2 separate regions of the Homo sapiens genome follow, and region 1 is linked to region 2. The links are contacts of gene promoters, found by promoter capture Hi-C in blood cells and fetal thymus (Javierre and others, 2016). All regions are on one chromosome and are shown on one strand. The core of a region is centred on a gene start or on the middle of the fragment in contact, and the rest is flanking DNA. Distances in the headings are between cores, read along the strand shown.

What was found. The method cuts DNA at HindIII sites, captures the fragments that hold promoters and counts their contacts. A CHiCAGO score of 5 or more calls a contact.
Region 1: a contact is called between a fragment that was not itself captured here and the fragment with the promoter of SEMA6A in region 2, in 1 of 17 cell types (endothelial precursors). The highest score is 11.9, in endothelial precursors.

What each region holds. Positions count from the first base shown.
Region 1 is chr5:118,786,322-118,789,021 of GRCh38, forward strand. No RefSeq gene overlaps it. Among named protein-coding and RNA genes, the nearest start is that of MIR1244-2, 190 kb to the right of the region's middle. The HindIII fragment of the contact is 6,843 bases long and covers 1-2,700 here.
Region 2 is chr5:116,573,429-116,576,128 of GRCh38, forward strand. It overlaps SEMA6A (semaphorin 6A), which reads right to left and starts at 1,395. Exons shown (of 19, transcript NM_020796.5): 1 at 757-1,395. SEMA6A-AS2 (SEMA6A antisense RNA 2) reads left to right here and starts at 990. Exons shown (of 3, transcript NR_147170.1): 1 at 990-1,111. RefSeq lists a silencer at 1,151-1,230. The HindIII fragment of the contact is 8,307 bases long and covers 1-2,700 here.

The DNA of each region.
Region 1 (2,700 bases), core at 77-2,576, 2.2 Mb after region 2:
CATTTTGCAACATAGGAGAAGCCAAAAGAAACCCAGAGAGAGAAATCTCCCATGGAAGGGAATAGAGTTGTCTTCTAGACCAAGACACCAAAAAATGGGATTGCATAATGTGTGTGTGTGTGTGTGTGTGTGTGTGTGTGCGTGTCTGTGTGTGTGTGTCTGTGTGGCAGGGTATGAGCCCAGTCAGGGGTACAGGCAGCATCCACATCACTAATTTGAAATGCCTTCCCTTAGGAAGTTCCCAGTTAACTAGAACTTTGACCTCTATAAAACCTTTCTTAGAATACTCAAACCTTCAAAAAAGATCTTATATACTGACATTAAAGTAAGTCATGTGGGTCTGGTGAAGGCTAATGGAGCTTTCCTTCTGAGCTCCGGTGTAGAAAGGCATTGTTGCTGACCTTCCTGTCTACTCACACTCCAGGCCTGCAAGAGGCCTTCTGCAGTAATGGAGACTCCCTAATGTAGGAGGGACCCAAGACGCTCCGAACTTCATGACTCACCCATCCCATGTGACGATTTCCCCATAAGAAGAAGGAAGGACTCTAAGACCCCCAGTGTTGTGTTGACATATAGATTATGGCATTATTATACAGTATAATTATGATTTCTTCTTGTGCTGTTTGAAATTTTTTATCATAGATATTTGTGAATGGCTTATTGAACCCTGTCAACTCACTGGGATATAAAGGTGACTTTTTTTGGCAGTAGCTATTCCTAGATGTCTTATATAAGTAATGCCTTCCTTCATATAATCTTGACCCAGTTCCATAAGTTTTAAGACACTCTGACTTATACAAACAGTACCCTTTCTGTTTCCATGATTTAGTCCTATTTATTTAAAAAACTTCAGTAACACATCTGATTCAAATCTCTTCTCTCTACTCCCACCCCAGCCCCAAGCATACGCAAGAGCTTTGATTTTACTCCTCTGAAGTGGAGGGTTTGACTTCCACACCTCTCCTCTCCTCTTCCTCTACCCACTGTTGCTTGCTACCCTGTCAGGGTGTGGCTGAGGGAGCAAGAAAGGAACAAAAACTACCCTCCTGACTGGGCCGGTCTTGACTGATTTGTTGCAGTCTTGCCTTAGTTTGGTAGTATTAATTGCTGTTTTCACTCATTGTATATACACTCAGGGCAGTTGGTATGGATGGCTGGTTACTCCAACATGGCCCACTGGTAAAAAGCTCACTACCCACATCTGATTTTCCCCAATTCCCTGGCAAAGCAGACATCCCAAAAAGAAATAAAAATGATAGTTACCCTTTTGGAAGGTTGCCCTCCCAACCCTTTTTTTTTTTTAATGGAAATTCTTTCAGGACCTCCTCTTATCCTTGGGGAAAGAAAGCATCTTCTCTCCAAAATGTGAGTGAGGGGATAGACTTTCTTCTTGTGTTGACAGTGTGGAAGGAGGGTGGTTGGTTGTAGAGCTGGTTTCTGTATTTGTTTCCATCTTAAGCCTGAGGAGTGGTAGCTGAACCACCTGTTGGCTTTGCTTTGAACTAAAAATGTGGGATTTAGCCATTATTCTGGTACAATCTGACAGCTTATTTGTTAACACTTGTATTTTCTTTATTAAAAATAAAAAATTATAATAACATATGGCCTATGAAAATATGGTATAGGTATACACAGAGAACACTTTCATAGAACAGCAAAGGGCTACTTCCCCAATCCTACAAAAGGAAGGATCATGAACAATTTGCTAAAGAAGAGAAAGTCTTACCTAAATCATAATCGGAAAGTAGAAATTATCCTACTGGAAATGAAGAGGTAGAGGAAGGTTAATCAACCTTGGCAATATTGACATTTGGGCCAGATAATTCTTTGTTATGGAAGGGTGACATTCTTGGACTCTATGCACTATGTGCCAGTAGCACCCCTCCCCAAGTTATGACAAACAAAAATGTCTGCAGATGTTGCCAACTGTCTCTTCAAGGGACAAAATTGTCCCTGGTTGAAAATCACTGGGGTAGAGTTTTATAGGTAGAGGAAAAAATTGTAACCAAAGGCACCAGGTATGGAACAGCATGATATTTCTGAAAACTACACATAGTTCTATATTACTCAAGTACAAAGTGCAATGCCGGGCATAATGGGAGATAGCAATGACAAATATGGAAGCCTGATAATGGAACATCTGGTCGGGATTGCAGATGTTATGGAATGGCATCCCTATGGTGATGGTAAGTCTCAGAAAGGGAATGACACAGTCAGATTTGAATTTCAGACAGATGGTAAGAGGATATGGGAAGAGTAAGACTTTTGGCAGCTGGACCACTCAGGAGCTATGTCAGAAATCAAGATAGAGATGAGAAAATGCACCTGAACTGGAGGAGTGGAAGGAGGGACAGGGAGGGGCTGAATTGTATGTAGGAAGCCTGGGTGGATGGTCCCACAGCTGAAGAAAAGAGAAGACAGAAGGATGGGCTTTCACCTTCCTTGCTGGGAAGAAAAAAGTTTGGAAGGGTTGAGTTGTGGGTGTCTTCTTGTTGGTTAGTTTAAGAACTTAGCCTATGGAAATCTATTTCATCTTCATAGTTTTCTGAATTTTCCAATTCAGAATTCAAATTTTCTGGGAATTCAAATGACAAAGACACTTAGATTTTGATCCCTATCACCTTAGGTAATTTATTCAACACACAAAGCATCACAAACAACTCAGCTGTGCTTTGTCAAAACAGAATTCCTCATTTCAAA
Region 2 (2,700 bases), core at 145-2,644:
TCGGGTTGGGAGCTGCGGCGGGGGACAGGACCCATGGCGGGGGCGCCGCGTCACCCGAACGGCTGCTCCCGGACACTTATTCGAGCAAACAAAGCCCGGAACCTCTGGTGGCAGCGGCCACAGGAGCCAGGATCTCACCGAGAGACAGGGCGCGCGGGTGCCTAGAGCCATTACAAGTTTCTTGCACTCCACGGAGCCCAGCCCAGACCCCACACTGACAACAAAAGATTCTCTCCGCTTCCACACCGTCTCCGCGGAACCCCTTCTCCCACCTGGCACTGGACGAAAACAGCGCTGTTATACCCAACCCCCTCCAGCCCTCGAGGGCAGAACCCCTTCCCCTGCCTTCGACACACCGGGCCAGGGAGCTTCCGAGAATCCCACCATTTAGGGCCCGCTCTGCTCCCTGCTGGGCACGCGGGAGGATGAGCCTTGGGTCTCGCACACACACCCCCAGGAGGAACAGCCATACGCGCCGTCGCGGCCCGGGGCGGCGCCGGGCGTGTGCGCAACGCGGGTGGGAAAGCTCTCGACGTGGAGCCGGACGCACTCTGGGGCGCAGGGCAGAGAGGAAAGGCAGGCAGGGCTCACGGCTGCTCCCCCAGGACCGGGCAAGGCTCGGGAAACAGAGACACAAGACAAAATAAAACGCAGGCACCACAAAGCCGACAGCACGCGCTAGCCACGGCCCCGGGACCCTCAGGCTGGAGTCCAGCTGCCCGGGAGGTGGGGCGCGCCCGGGCGCCCGGGGCGTACCTTTTCGGTGCATCGACGGACAGGCGGCCGGGGCTCGGAGCGAACTGGTACAGCGTGTATCCCATTTAGTAATCCATTATCGAGGGGATCTCTCCGGGCCGCGGGCTGCGCTCTCTCCTTCGCAAGCCTTTGTCATTCCTACATGTGTGCTTGTCTCTTTGGGGGAAATAGTCGCGGCGACTACTTTCTGGGATGCAAACGCGATGTGTTCATCTCCAATGACGAGCGGAGAAGGGGAGAGGAAAAAAGAAGCCAAAAAAAAAAAGAAGAAAAAGAAAAAGAAAACCAACAAGGAAGAGGGTAAATGTTCAAGAAACTCTTCTCCAAATCCAAATTCCACTTGGATTCCACTTCGGTGAGTCCCCTTGGTGGTGTCTGCGCCGATTAACAAGTCATTTCAGGGCGGGGGGCGGGGTGGGGGCTGGGGCAGGGGTGCAAGGCTCTGGCCCGGCTCTGCGGCCGGCAGCGCGGTGCCGCGGGTGTGGTGATGCTGGCCGCTGCTACACGCTGCTAAGCGGGCATCGCGGGCGACCGGCACCGCGGAGGAGCGCCGCTGCTGGGTTCCGAGCGCCTGGGCAGCCGAGTGCGCGGGGAGCGGAGTTGGCTGCAGCCTCACCCCGTGCCGCTCACTACTCCTCTGTCACCGGAGAGGCCGCCGCTCCCGGGCGGAGCCAAGTCCCGGACTGGATTGCGCAGATCGGACTCTCCTTCCGCAACTCCGCCTACTTTGGCTGGCGTCTCCTCCGACCCAAAGGAGAGCTGTGGTGTATGTGAGTGCGAGTGAGCGAGGCAGAGGCGGAGAAACTACGCGGTGTGGCTGCAGGTGGAGCCTTGGACCAACTGGCCAGCGCCGCTTCCTTCCACCAGGATTCCTGGCCCCACCGCGCGCTAGGCGGAGGCTCAGCGGGGGCGACTCTGGCTGGAGCCCAGCCCTCACCTCCCCCACCCCCACATCTGCTCTAGCTAGGAAAAAAAAAAAGAAAAAAAAAATCCCGGACAGCATTGCTGAGTCCTGCCAAATCAGAAAAATAAATAAAAATAGACGTAGTGCAGGAGCGAGTTACAAGAAAGGTTTTGTTCATCGATTTTCTTAAATGGAAAAGTTTTAAAGGATGAGGGTAAGTGAACGGCGAGCTTTTCTGATTCTGATTACTGTTATCAAGAGGTAGATTCCAGAAGCGATGGACGCTCTACGTAGTTAGATGAATTGGATAGAAGCCGGTGCGGTTAAAAATACACTTGGAAGATAAGAACACAGCTATTAATTACGCACATACACACGTTAATAAAGCATGTGAAGTAAGCAAATAAACTACAGTGCAGAGAATGGCGTTTTTAACGACGGCGATCTATTTTAAAACTTAATGAAGTTCACATTTTGTGGACTGGTCTTAGAAATAAGTAAACTTCAGAAATAACACGCATACAATTCCAGTGAGAACCCAAAAGGTTTATGGAAGAAGAAAATCGCAACCACTTCCAAGGCGCTATTGTTATGATCACATGAAGAATGGCAGGCACAGCCTTCTTTCACCACTTGAACTTTCAATAGCTACAAAGTCTTGCAGTTACAGGCTTGTGCCAACTCGTCGGGCCACACCACGTTCCCCTCCCCCTGCCGCTGCGCCCCGAAATCAACTGCGCGCCGCGGCTCTTGCTCCCCAAGGGGGCTTCGCAGATGGTACGGATCCTAGTCGCAACCTTTAAACAAAGTAACATCGGGCGGCCCAGCAGTTCTCGGAGAGATATTTACTAGTCATGGAGTTGGCTGAGAAAAGCAAGTGCGGAGATCGGGGTCTCAGTCCCACTTAGGCCGAGTTTCTTTATATTGGAAACTGTACCTGTTCCCTAATTGGGACTAAGACCACTAATAAGTCCACGTTCCCTCTTTGGTCGCTTCTCTAAGTACAGACATCTGCTTAAGAGGCTTCACGAAGAATAAAT